Regions from separate parts of the Homo sapiens genome. Here region 2 is linked to region 1. Evidence: promoter capture Hi-C in human tissues and cell types (Jung and others, 2019). All regions are on one chromosome and are shown on one strand. The core of a region is centred on a gene start or on the middle of the fragment in contact, and the rest is flanking DNA. Distances in the headings are between cores, read along the strand shown. Region 1 holds the start of RAMP2 (receptor activity modifying protein 2). Region 2 overlaps EZH1 (enhancer of zeste 1 polycomb repressive complex 2 subunit).

The links. Contacts are between HindIII fragments. The study calls those that stand out against the background at their distance.
Region 2: a contact is called between a fragment that was not itself captured here and the fragment with the promoter of RAMP2 in region 1, in 1 of the 25 tissues and cell types used here (liver).

What each region holds. Positions count from the first base shown.
Region 1 is chr17:42,759,438-42,766,813 of GRCh38, forward strand. RAMP2 (receptor activity modifying protein 2) reads left to right here and starts at 1,790. Exons shown (of 4, transcript NM_005854.3): 1 at 1,790-1,921; 2 at 2,397-2,462; 3 at 2,918-3,026; 4 at 3,160-3,604. The coding sequence starts at 1,825. The coding sequence ends at 3,415. RAMP2-AS1 (RAMP2 antisense RNA 1) reads right to left here and starts at 1,820. Exons shown (of 6, transcript NR_024462.1): 1 at 1,443-1,820; 2 at 1,198-1,274; 3 at 989-1,076; 4 at 302-443. RefSeq lists a silencer at 1,904-1,993. The HindIII fragment of the contact is 24,962 bases long and covers 1-7,376 here.
Region 2 is chr17:42,708,319-42,714,833 of GRCh38, forward strand. It overlaps EZH1 (enhancer of zeste 1 polycomb repressive complex 2 subunit), which reads right to left. Exons shown (of 21, transcript NM_001991.5): 11 at 4,891-5,071; 12 at 3,971-4,167; 13 at 1,528-1,619; 14 at 558-598. It also overlaps the pseudogene RPL34P30. Among named protein-coding and RNA genes, the nearest start is that of MIR6780A, 3.4 kb to the left of the region's middle. The HindIII fragment of the contact is 8,591 bases long and covers 1-5,993 here.

The sequences.
Region 1 (7,376 bases), core at 540-3,039:
TGTTGCCCAGGCTCTATTTTAAATCTAACATTTGCTTTTGTCCCCTTTAATCTTGACCCCAACCCCAGTCCTAACCCATAGTGGGCTCATGTGCTTCTGGCCCCAACCCAGTGAAAATGGCTTGTTTTGCTTTCTGCACCTCCTTGCTCCTTCCTCCCATCTTATCACTCAGAAATCTCCCATGCTTCCTTCTTGAAAGGAGCAATCCTAGGCAGGCAGGAAGGACTAGATTTGGTCCCAGCCTGAAATGTCTCAGAGACTGCATGGCTCTTTTCTGCATCATTGTAGAAATGATCCTTACCAGGAGGACTTTGGAGTTCACGTCAAGCAGGCCATTGACTCTCTCCCACTGGATTCTTTGCAAAAGCAGCCTCTTGACCATAGAGGAGGACAACAGGTTATCCGTGCCCATGATCCAAGAGCTTGAGATCCTGAGATGAAGACTTCAGGAGAGATCAGGACAGATAATTTGTGGTGGGCAGGAATCAGTAAACTGGGACAACAGCAGCAGCTGAGTCCAAGGGTCAGTGTCTGGGAGTAATTTAGGAAAGTTTGGTGCTGACAGCTGTGTCTGGGACTTGAACGTCATGGCCAAACCAGCTCCTGGGCTCCTCAGCTGCTTCAGACTAATGAACCTCTGGCCCAGGACACAAGAAGCAGCTGTGGTGTGGCTGAAGTCAGGACCCCCGGAGGCCCAGACTCAGCCTTGCTGCTTCCTTAACAGTGTGACCTTAGATAAGTCACTTAGGAAAAGAGGAAAGGAAACTAGCATTTAGCGAGTGCAGTGCCCTTTCACAGCTGCCATCATACAGTGAGGAGGGGAATGTCCCTATTTCACATGAGAAGTCCTGAAGGTAAACGTGTCATTCAAGGCTCTATAGCTGGGGAGTAAGAAGACAGAATTAGAACCCAGAGCTTCTGAATTCAAATCCCGGGCTGTTGGCCCTGAGCTTTAGCTTCTCGGTCTGTAAAATGGTGTTACACTCACCTGGCACATGAAGTCGCACACTGAAGGTTCTAAAACCCCTCCATTCTTTCTCCCAACCGTGGTCCTGAAGAGCTGTGGCACCTTCTTCCTGGGAACGTAGTCATCGTATTTTGCCCTCCCCACAACAGGTTTGTGGGGTCTAGGCCCCAGGAGGTGTCTGAAGGGAAGGTATTTGGACTTTGCTTTCCCCTCTACCCCACTCCCCAGACCTTCTCCCGACTCCAGAGGGCTGGCTCCCGCTTCTCCTCCCTGGTTTTGGCTGGCGGACTGACATCAGCTGGTATTCCTAGGGATAGGATAAGGAACCCTGAGCTGCATGGCTCAGCTCCAGGCGCCCCTTCCCCCACAACCCAGGACAGCCCCTTAGAAGCAGCGGCGTCGAGAGGCCGCTGGAGCTCCCAGCCCCCTCCCTCTTCTCCACGTCTGGGAGAGCAGCTTGCCGACCCCTCCAGACCCGAAAGAGAGAGGGGGCGACTCGAATTCGGGGAGCGATCCTGGGAGACCCTGGAGAGTCCTGGGCGCCACGCAGCCGAGCCCCCGAAATAGATCCCGGTTCCGGGGTTCCGGGAGCTGTCCAGCCTCGCGGGGTGAGCTACGAGAGGGTGGGCCAACGCCGGCGAGGCGGAGGGAGCCGCGGGCGCCAGGCGCGGGTGAGGCAGCGACTCCCCCTCCAGCCGCGGGCCCCGAGCGTCGCCCCCGCCCCCCACGTGGCCGCCGCCGTCCCAGCCCCTCCGAGGAAGCGGCGCGGCTTCCTGCAGCTTGGGCTGGGGATATAGGCGCCCCCACACCCGGGCCCGGCTCAGCGCCGCCGCCGCTCCTCGCCTCCTTGCTGCACGATGGCCTCGCTCCGGGTGGAGCGCGCCGGCGGCCCGCGTCTCCCTAGGACCCGAGTCGGGCGGCCGGCAGCGCTCCGCCTCCTCCTCCTGCTGGGCGGTGAGCGCGGCGCCCCGAGGCCCGGGCGGGAGGCGCGAGAGGCCCCGGAGGGGAGAGGGGAGAGGGGAGAGGGGCTGGATGGCCGAGGCCGGAACGGGCCCTGGGGTGCGGGTTAGGACCGACGTACCTAGCAGCACTGGCCCTCGGACGGTCCCTGACCCCACCTCGGGGCGGGCGCAGCATGAGCTGCTTCCCACCCAGGGAAAGCTGGGGTGCTGGCCCCGGCCCCTCGAAGAGGGCTTAGGAGGACGGAAGCTGGCCAGAGATGAGGGGGCTTTGGGCCTGGGTGTGAGTGACAAGGAGCTGGTGCCAGCCCCTCCCTCCCCGGCACTGAGGCGTCCGTGGGGGCTAGATTATTCCTCCTTTTCTTCCAAGGTAGCCTATTTTCGGAGGGTCTCAGTCCCCCAACCCCCCTCGCAGGCTCCACTGCCGGGGTCCCCGCTATGTTACCCTCCTCTCCCGTTTCTTCCCACAGCTGTCCTGAATCCCCACGAGGCCCTGGCTCAGCCTCTTCCCACCACAGGCACACCAGGGTCAGAAGGTGGGTACCCAGGGTGTGGAAGGGTGGCCGAGGGTAAGGACGAGAGCAAGTTCAGTGGGGAGGGTTCCTTTCCCACGAGGCCTGCCCAACCCCAGCTGATGCCCCACTACACTCCCCTCTGTTCTTTCTTGGGGTTCCTCGTGGTCTTTCTCCCTGTCCTCCTACAAAGCCCCTGCACGGCTCTGAGCTGCCCACCTCACAAGTGGGCGAGAAGACCCCAGGAAAAGGTGTACGTGGAAGTTCTTATCAGGCTGGGATGGAAAGTGCTTAGCACATGGAAGTCATTATAGGATTCCTGAGCTGGGACTCTGTCCTCAGCCAGAATGTTTTGCTAGGGAAACTTTCTGAAGGGTTCCCACGTTTGAAGACAGGCAGTTCACCTTGCAAGCACCTGGGCAGGAGGGTTTGTAGGGAGGGGTAGGGGTGTGGTCATTGTGTAGCATCTGTACCTACAGGGGGGACGGTGAAGAACTATGAGACAGCTGTCCAATTTTGCTGGAATCATTATAAGGATCAAATGGATCCTATCGAAAAGGATTGGTGCGACTGGGCCATGATTAGCAGGTAGGGGCAGTGATGGAGGGTGGCTCAGGCCAGGGGGTGGACCTGCTCATTGCAGGTAGACCCTGAGTGAGAGTGGGGCACTCTTCTCCCTGGGTCCACCCCCTCTCTCACTCAAGTCCTCTTCTGCCCCTAGGCCTTATAGCACCCTGCGAGATTGCCTGGAGCACTTTGCAGAGTTGTTTGACCTGGGCTTCCCCAATCCCTTGGCAGAGAGGATCATCTTTGAGACTCACCAGATCCACTTTGCCAACTGCTCCCTGGTGCAGCCCACCTTCTCTGACCCCCCAGAGGATGTACTCCTGGCCATGATCATAGCCCCCATCTGCCTCATCCCCTTCCTCATCACTCTTGTAGTATGGAGGAGTAAAGACAGTGAGGCCCAGGCCTAGGGGGCCACGAGCTTCTCAACAACCATGTTACTCCACTTCCCCACCCCCACCAGGCCTCCCTCCTCCCCTCCTACTCCCTTTTCTCACTCTCATCCCCACCACAGATCCCTGGATTGCTGGGAATGGAAGCCAGGTGGGGTCATGGCACAAGTTCTGTAATCTTCAAAATAAAACTTTTTTTTTGTACAATGTCCTTCTCCCCATTTCAGTGGAACCTGTGTCCTTCCCTGCCACTGCCACAGGCCCTCAGCCCTGGGTAGTAGAACTGGAAAAATCTGGATGGCCCATTGTTCTGTTCATTTCACCTGCCCCCCTGCTCCCTGCCTCCATGAAGGTCACACCCCTATATTCTTTCCTCCCAGGCGGGCCTTTCCTGCCTATATCCAAACTCGGCTCCAGGAAACAAGCAGGAAGAGACTCCCTTCCGGTCTGGACAGCAGCTGGGGGCCTGCAACTGGGGAGGTGTGGGGGAAGGGGCAAGGGAGGAATCTCTGCTTGTGACTCCTGCAAGAGGAGCAGGAGGCTGCCCAGGAGCCCTGACTATTCCTCTTCTTCATGCTTCAGTTTACTCACAGGGCCTGGGAAGAGGAACCCTGACTGAGCAACAGGAATCCATTCCTAAGGCCCTCACAATTGAGGGAGAAAGCAGTGGGGGCTTCCTTTACTAGGTTCACCACCCCTCTCCATGTCCCTTGCCCTCATCCTACATTGTCCTGGACTGGGTGTGGCCTGCAGCCTAGCAACACACTGCCCCCTGGTGTCCACTAAAGCCAGCAACCAGAAGACGTATCTGATCTGGAAGAAGCTCAAGGCTGAGGAGCACTGGACCCTGGGGTCAGAAAACTGCCATCTCTACAGCAATCACTAGTTCCTTGTTTGTTTGTTTGTTTGTTTGTTTGTTGAAACAAGGTCTCATTCTGTCACCCAGGCTGGAGTTCAGTGGCACAAACATGGCTCACTGCAGCCTCGACCTCCTGGGCTCAAGGATCCTCCCATCTCAGACTTCCAAGTAGCTGGGACCACAGGCGTGAGCCACCATGCCCAGCTAATTTTTTTTTTTTTTTTTTTTTTTTGAGATGGAGTCTTGCTCCGTCACCCAGGCTGGAGGGCAGTGGCATGCTCTCGGCTAACTGCAAACTCTGCCTCCTGGTTCATGCCATTCTCCTGCCTCAGCCTCCAGAGTAGTTGGGACTACAGGTGCTCGCCACCACGCCCGGCTAATTTTTTGTATTTTTGGTAGAGACAGGGTTTCACTGTGTTATCCAGGATGATCTCGATCTCCTGACCTCATGATCCACCCACCTCGGCCTCCCAAAGTGCTGGGATTACAGGCACGAGCCACCACACCCGGCCTAATTTTTTTTTTAAGTTTTTTTATACAGATGGGGTCTCACCGTGTTGCCCAGGCTAGTCTTGAACTCCTGGCCTCAAGTGCTCCTCCCCAGTCAGTCTCCCAAAGTGCTGGGATTACAAGCATGAGCCTGCTGTGCCTGCACAACCACTAGTTCTTAGCTGGACCCCGCTATCAGCTTCCTGAGACAAACAACACTCTCTTCAGATACCTTCCTACTTTCTAGGATCATACCCAGCCCCTCTCTACAAGTCACCATTGCTGTATATGAACACACCTATATGTTCCCTGGATAGTGAGGCCCATTTCTTACCAGGTAACCTACACCTTCAACTCTCCATCAGACACAACTGCCAGGTCTCCAAAAATATCTCCAAAACAACTTTATTCTCCATGGATACATCTGTTTACTCCTTGTGGCACCCCGAGCCTCTTTAGGGACTTTCCTTCTTGTTGAAATATCTGCCTTCTTGAGTACATGCATGTCCATTTCTTGGGGTATCCTGCCTTTTCCATATATGCTTGTATGATTCCTGGAACATGCCTATTCATTCTCTGAGACACACATCTCTCAGGGTGCATCTGTTTTTCTAGGCACACATATGTTCCCTAAAAATATTTTGAGTTTTCTGACCGGGCGCGGTGGCTGACACCTGTAATCCCAGCACTTTGGGATGCCAAGGCTGGTGGATCACCTGAAGTCAGGAATTCGAGACCAGCCTAACCAATATGGTGAAACCCGTCTCTATTAAAAATACAAAAATTAGCCAGGCGTTGGGGTGTGTGTTTGTAGTCCCACTACTTAGGAGGCTGAGATAGGAGAATTGCTTGAACCTGGGAGGCAGAGGTTGCAGTGGGCCAAAGATCGCTCCATTGCACTCCAGCCTGGGTGACAGAGCGAGATTCTGTCTCAAAAAAAAGTATATATATTTTGAGTTTTCACCTGAAATACAGGTTTCCTTAATTTCCATGAATGCATCTGTCTTCCCTAAAGGTATATCTACTCCCTTTGTAGCATGTATTTGCCTTCATGCATTTTATTAATATACATCAAGGACCTGCTGGTATAAAACACTGTGTGTGCCGGGCACAGTGGCTCACGCACTCCCAGCACTTTGGGAGTGTAATCCCAGCACTTTGAGAGGCTGAGGCGGGTAGATCACAAGATCAGGAGTTCAAGACCAGCCTGACCAAGACAGTGAAACCCCATCTCTACTAAAAATACAAAACTTAGCCAGTTGCAGTGACAGGCGCCTGTAATCCCAGCTACTCGGGAGGCTGAGGCAGGAGAATTGCTTGAACCTGGGTGGCAGACGTTGTGGTGAGCCAAGATCACGCCACTGCACTCCAGCCTGGGTGACAGAGTGAGACTCCATCTCAAAAACAAAACAAAACAAAACAAAAAAGACACTGTGTGGTGTATTATGTTGGAAAGATAGGTTAGATAGAGTCTGGTTTTCTGCCCTCAGTGGCTTTCATCTAGTGAGAAAGTTGACGTGTACAAATTAACAAACCAAAACAAAAGTGTAATGAGAATCATGCTAGGGATACAAACCAAATGTTATCTGAGTGTGAGGGAAAAAGGGATCACATCTGGCTGAGAAGATCACAAGGGGTGTGATCACAGGAGGGTGACTGCAGAGTTGGTAGATGACTAGGCCATAGCTGGAGTACGTTCTTCTAGGGGAGAGAGTAGAAAGGGAGGTGAATTAGGAAATTATTGCAATAATCCAGACCTGAGAAAATGAGGACATGGGGCAAAGGAGTGTTGAATGGGGTAATGGAAAATAATTATAAAGTAGAGGATAGGATTAAAAACGGGAGGAAGAGGCCAGATGTGGTGGCTCATACCTGTAATCCCAGCGCTTTGGGAGACTGAGGTGGGAGGATCACCTGAGGCCAGGAGTTCAAGACTAGTCAGGGTAGCATAGTGAGACCATGTCTCTACAAAAAAAAAAAAAAAACACAGGCAGGGCGAGGTGGCTCATGCCTGTAATCCCAGCACTTTGGAAGGTTGAGGTGGGTGGATCACTTGAGGTCAGGAATTTGAGACCAACATGGCGAAACACCATCTCTTTTTTTTTTTTTTTTTTTGAGACACAGCATTGCTCTGTCGCTCAGGCCAAAGTACAGTGGTGCAATTTTGGCTCACTGCAACCTCTGCCTCCCTGGTTCAAGCGATTCCTGTGACTCAGCCTCCCAAGTAGCTAGCACTACAGGCATGTGCCACCATGCCCAGCTAACTGTTATATTTGGAGTAGAGACGGGAGATTTCACCATGTTGAGTTGACCAGGCTGGTCTCGAACTCCTGAGCTTAGGTGATCCACCTGCCTCGGCCTCTCAAAATGCTGGGATTACAGGCGTGTGCCACTGCGCCCAGCCCGAAACTCCATCTCTACTGAAAATACAAAATTAGGCCAGATGCGGTGGCTCACGCCTGTAGTCCCAGTACTTCGGGAGGCTGAGATGGGCAGATCACCTAAGCTCAGGGGTTCGAGAACAGCCTGGCCAACATAGTGAAACCCTATCTCTACTAAAAATACAAAAACTAGCTGGGCGTTGTGGTGCATGCCTGTAATCTCAGCTACTCCGGAGGCTAAGGCAGGAGA
Region 2 (6,515 bases), core at 448-2,947, 51 kb before region 1:
ACATTAAATGAGGTCTGGAACCTAGCAAATGGCACACTAGAAAAGTCACATACTGGCCAGGCACAGTGGCTCACGCCTGTAATCCCAGCACTTTGCGAGGCCGAGGCAGGTGGATCATTTGAGGTCAGGAGTTCGAGACCAGCCTGGCCAACATGGTGAAACCCCGTCTCTACTAAAAATACAAAAATTAGCCAGGCATGGTGGTACATGCCTGTAATCCCAGCTACTTGGGAAGCTGAGGCAGGAGAATTGCTTGAACCCGGGAGGCGGAGGTTGCAGTGAGCCAAGATTGTGCCACTGCACTCCAGCCTGGGTGACAGAGCGAGGCTCCATCTCAAAAAAAAGAAAAATCACAGACCACAAGGCCCTTAATGTTACCTCCTAAGAGGTCTTCTCAGTTGCAGTGAGAGGCTCAGCTGTTCTCAGTTGCTGCAGAGAATTCTGCAATCTGCGGAAGTGGCACAGGGTCAACAAGTGCAGCTGGAGGTGGGGTAGGGTGATGACCACAGAGTGAGGCCTCCAGCTGAACTGCTGAAGAATGCCCTGGTAGAACTTACCTTTCTTCAGCTGAATCTTCCTGCAGTGTGCAGCCCACAATCTGAAAAAGACAGGAAGGACAGGTCTCAGTCACGGCCCTAGGGAGCTCTGCAAATGCAGGTAAATGACAACGTGACTTGCTCTGAGGGACTGTGTTTGATGACTGGGGAGTATCTTCCCAAACCCCTCAACAGGACGACTTTGGTACACAGAAGCTAGAGTCCATCCTAAATCCAGCTGGCCTGTGCTACAAGAGTTAAACTTAAACACAACCCCTCCCAAACAAGCAAATAACATAAAAGAACACAACACAGAAATAAAAGAAAGCCCAAGCCTATTGGTCTATTATAAAGCTATTGTTTCTCTCCAAATCTCTCCCTTTGTCTTTGTGGAGGTGGAGATATGGGGGAGTTTCAAGATGGGGAGGTGGGAAGGCCTTTCAGGAATCTTCTCTGAAAGAACTGAAAGGGAGGAGCCACAGGGATTTCCTTCTGTATCTAGAAGTGGTGTCAGCTCCTTCCTCTGATAGGTGATAGTCACTAGGGAACAGGGCCAGGGTGCAGAATTTTTTTAAAAACTTCCAACCTAAGTAAAGGCTATCATGTAACTCAGAAAAACAACACAAACCAAACAAATAAATAAACTCTGATCAGAGTTGAGAAATGGGTAAGGTGGTAACAAAACCAACAAGGAGAAATGGCTTCAGGGTGGAGCCATGAGGCCAGCTCATGTCCTATTGGCCAGAAGCTTAAATAGAAAAACAGACAGTTATGGTCCACAGCACTGGGGGACAAGAAGAGGGCTGATCTAAGGCACAGACCCTCAGGGAGCACTCAGGAGGCTGGCTCTCAGTCATGTGATGCCAAGCTGATGGGCTCACACAGCCTGTGCGGTTGCTAAAGAGGGAGGCAGATGGGAACTCCAAGGGGAGGTCAGAGCACAGGGAACAGCCTGGCTGTAAAACAAAACACTTTGTCCAACCCTTCTTGCCTGTGCTTTCTTTTCTTCTTCTGTGAGGGGTTCATGAGCTCATCTGTTGGCAGCTTCAGGATAAGTGATTCTTTGACTGCAAACTGAAAGACCTGGAAGAGAAATCCAACGGGCCTGTCACTCCTCGAGCAAGGGGGTCAGGTAAGTGGCCCAGCTGGGTGCTGGCCTTGGGAGGGTTCTGAGAAACTCAGGCAGCTGACCAAGCCTCTCATCAGTCAGGGAGAGACAGAGTGCCACTGGAACATTGGGTTACTGGCTCTGAAGTTCATTCCTAATTATTTATCCTGACTCAGGAAAGGAGAAATACTGAGCACAGTAATACCGCCCCTGGTCAGAAGCTGTCACCTACTACTCTTTCTACCAAGCCACGGGTAGAAGAGTGGGCTGACTGTGACCAACAGTATCTTCTTCTTTTTAGGAAGGGCAACGCTGTGCCTTGTGTAACTGAGTGTAAGGCAGGACAGGACAGGACAGGAATGGTTTCAGTGGGCTAAATATTAGCTCCCTCTGTCAGTATAAAGATACCGGAGCCTCAGCCATTTCAATAGGATGTGTTTTTTCTCTTAAAGCACTGGTTTTTAGTTTTTCCTTTTCTTTGTTGGGGCTATTGGCCCTTTGTGGGGGATCTTTGAAAACTGTAACTATTCTCAGGAAAATACAGACAAGAACATTCTTGCATACAAATCCATAGATGGTTACGTTGAGAACCTGTGATCAGGGAAATAGGTATGAGCTCCAAAATGAAAGCAAAGGGCACTTCAGCTCATGGTTCTGTTTTTGTTTGTTTTTTTTTTTTTTTTTTAAGAGAGAGGGTCTCATACTCTTGGCCAGGCTGGAGTGCAGTGGTGCCATCATAGCTCAATGTAGTATAGAACTCCTGGGCTCAAGCCATCTTCCCACCTCAGCCTCCTGAGTACTAGGACTACAGGTACGTGGCTTTTTTTTTTTTTTTTTTTTTGTAGAAATGGGGTCTCACTTTGTTGCCCACACTGGTCCTGAAATCCTGGCTTCAAGCGATCCTCCCACCATGGCTTCCCAAAGCACTGGAATTCTAGGTGTGAGCCACCTTGCCCAGTCCATGGTTCTATTAATTGTTCTCAGTACAGGAAGCATGAAGAAGAGGCCACAGAGTCTCCTCCAGAAGGTAGGAAGCCAAAGCATTGGGGTTCCTTTCCTGTTGGACATGCTGGCCCTGACAGCTGCCTCCTTGTCCCTGTTCTTCAGTCTGTCTTCTCACTGTGGTCTTTTCCTGTCTTTTCCTGGGCCAATCACTTGAGGTCAGGAGTTTGAGACCAGCCTGGCCAACATGGTGAAACCCCATCTCTACTAAAAAAAAATACAAAAATGGCCAGGCACATTGGCTCATGCCTGTAATCCCAGCACTTTGGGAGGCCGAGGCGGGTGGATCACCTGAGGTCAGGAGTTTGAGACCAGCCTGGCCAACATGGTGAAACCCCGTCTCTATTACAAATACAAAATTAGCCGGGCGTGGTGGTGCACACCTGTAATCCCAGCTACTTGGGAGGCTGTGGCAGAAGAATCACTTGAACCTGGGAGGCGGAGGCTGCAGTGAGCTGAGATCATGCCACTGCACTCCAGCCTGGGCAACAGACCGAGACTCCATCTCAAAAAAACAAAACAAAAAAAATTAGCTGGGTGTGGTGGTGGGCACCTGTAATCCCAGTTGCTTGGGAGGATGAGGCAGAAGAATCACTTGAACTTGGGAGGCGGAGGTTGCAGTGAACCAAGATTATGCCACTGCACCACTCCAGCCTGGGCAACAGAGCGAGATTCTGTCTCAAAAAAAAAAAAAAATTAGCTGGGCATACTGGCCTGCACCTGTAGTCCCTTGCTACTTGCTTGGCTGAGGGGAGAGGACTGCTTGAGCCCAGGAGGCGGAGGTTGCAGTGAGCTATGATCATGCCACTGCACTCCAGCCTGGGCGACACAGTGAAACCCTGTCTCAAAGACAAAATAAAGATAATCTAGTGATAGAAAATGTGGAGAATAAAATGACTGAAGAGGCTGGCGGAGTGGTGGAGGGAGCAGCAGCTGCAGCAGCTGCAGCAGCAGCAGCAGTGTGCTCATTAACAAGAGCCACAGAAAGACCTGGGAGTCCCTTCTGGGAAAGGGGTACACATTTAGAAAGGAGGCCAGAGCCAAAAAAAAGAAGCGAAAGAGTGTAGGACCCAGAAGCATTAAATAGAGTCCAGACAGAAATGAGCATTCAGCAAGGAGGAGGCGGGTCCCCAAACATCATTAGGCCTGGCACTTGCAGAAGGGCCATGTTTGGGAAACTCACAGAAGCACAGGCTCATCAGGGACTGAACTTAAGACAACTTCTCTCCAGACCCAGACACACAGCCTGGTAAGATGGCAAAGGGCTGGACAGAGCAATGCGTGAAAGGAGGGGCCCATTTGTTCTGCTGCTTCCAGATGGTACCTGCTTGCACGTCTTGGTCCCCAGAAGCCTGGCTATTGAACAGAAGTTGTTGAAGTAGGTGCCATGGAAGACTCGAAAAAGAGATTCTTCAGCCCCAGTCCATTCCACAGGCTCCGAGGGTGCTTCCACTACGCAGAGTTGAGGTGGGGCTGGACTAGCCTTCTGTTTTGTGGGAGTCTGACAGCGAGAGTTAGCCTCTGAGAAGGGAAGAAATAACAGAATCAGAAGAAGGTAGAATGCAGTTGTCATCAGTAGTTTGTCACAAACTCAGAAGTACTTCATTCTACTTTAAAAGGTAGAACAGTTAGGAATGAAAATATTCCCTATCTTTAGGCCAGGCATGGTGGCTCACGCCTGTAATCCCTGCATTTTGGGAGGCCGAGGTGGGTGGATTGCTTGAGCTCAGGAGTTCAAGACCAGCCTGGGCAACATGGCGAAACCCTGTCTCTACTAAAAATACAAAAATTAGCCAGGCAGGGTGGCTCACGCCTGTAATCCCAGCACTTTAGGACGCCGAGGCAGGCGGATCACCTGAGGTCAGAAGTTCAAGACCAGCCTGGCCAACATGGCGAAACCCCGTCTCTACTAAAAATATAAAAATTAGCCGGGCGTGGTGGCAGGCACCTGTAATCCCAGCTACTTGGGAGGCTGAGGCAGGAGAATCGCTTGAACCTGGGAGGTGGAGGTTGCAGTGAGCCAAGATAGCACCACTGCACTCCAGCCTGGGCAAAAAAGCGAGAGACTGTTTCAAAAAAAAAAAAAAAAAAAAAGAAAATATTCCCCATCTTTACTGTTTACAAAACTTGTAGAAAGAATTTATAATTTTTAAGAGGTAGTAAAGTTAAGTGTCAGGCAGTGATCCTGGGTTTACCAGAGTCCTTGCATGGAAAGAAAAAGTCTTCATTTTCTGTTCATCGTACCTGAAGAACTGGAGGCCCAGTCATTGCCTGTGTCCCTGTCACTGTCTCCTTCTTTAGTCTCAGCCACAGCAGAGGCTGAGGCATTGGAGCAGGAAGCACTGACTATGTGGTGCCTTCTCCGGCGACGACCAGAGCACTTGGAGCGGGGGTTGTGGAGCATGGCATACTCCTTTGCTCCTTCCTGCAGTGGACACATTACAGACAGGAAATAGGAACAGGCCCATCACCATATTGATCTCATCATCACAAACTTTCATCTTTACAACATCTGTCTACAATAATAGTGTCTTTTCTTTTTCTCTGTACCATATAATAAGTATGATCATATAACAATGAGAGCTGCTTAACAAAACTTACGTACTTTTTCACAAAAGAGTTGTCCTATAATGTTTTTTTGTTTGTTTGTTTTTTTGAGACAGGGTCTCTCTCTCTTGCCCAGGATGGAGTGCAGAGGCCTGCTCACTGCAGCCTCGAATTCCTGGGCTCAAGTGATTCCCTTGCCTCAGCCTCCCAAGTAGCTAGGACCACACGCACATGTCACCATGCCCAGCTAATGTCCTATAATCTTAAAAAAGATATAATCTATGCATCTGTGTCTTCAATTTTCCAGTGAGTTGTATCTAAAATTAACTTGCGTGTTACTTGTTTGGAATTTGAGAACACATTCTCCTATGGATGAAGAAATGAGATTCAGAGAGGGGAAGAAACTAGCTTGAGAGTATGCAGCTAATAGTTCCAGAGGGGTATAGGAATCAGGGCTCCTTGTCTCCCTAGGCCACTATTCTTTCCAGTCTACCACACTTTCTCTGTTTCCTTAATAAAATGTGTAATGCTTAATCTGTACAATCTTACTACTTAATTTTGAAACTTCCTCCCAAATCTGTGTATGAAACTCAGAAGAATATTGTTTCATTATTTTACAGCTATCACCCCCTTTTTTAAAAAATGAAATAATTATCACTCACCTAGATCATCAATATTTTCTCATCAGACTTGGTTTTCAAAGACTTCCTAGCTGTTTCTGAAAACTAAATCTATTTCTACAAAATAAAGGTTTATCTTCCAGTGACATTGTCTAGAGGCACTCAGAATGGTCCAGCATTTGACATACATGTAGGCTTTCCTACAATATAGCTTTTAACAAAACTAGGCTGTCCTGAGCCCCTGGTAATAGAATTGATTACCTTTATACCAAGAGGGTTGGGAAAGCACTGAAATCTGCATGTGGCGTGTGCCCAGCAGACTTCGGGGGGTTTGTGCTATGAGACCTAAAGTTCCTATGAGATTGTCCAAAACAAAAAAGCATGTCAGCAGGGCCTATGGTGGATCCGTGTGTGCTGAATGTATTGGTGCAGGAGCAAGTGTGCTTTCCTTAGCAAGCAGCAGAAAATTGTTGTGAAAGTGTTGAAGGCACAAGCAGAGTCAGAAAGCTCAATTTAAAAATGAAGTTTTTTTGAGTAATAAAAATGAAAAAAAAATAAAGGTTAACTATCATTAAGGGTATCTGGAATTTGGAATAATATACAGTAAGGCCTAAAGGAAATTCCAAAAGAGAAGTTTCAAAATTAACTGAACCTGATATTATGTGCCTATGCTGTGTATGAAGTATACAGTATCAATTATAC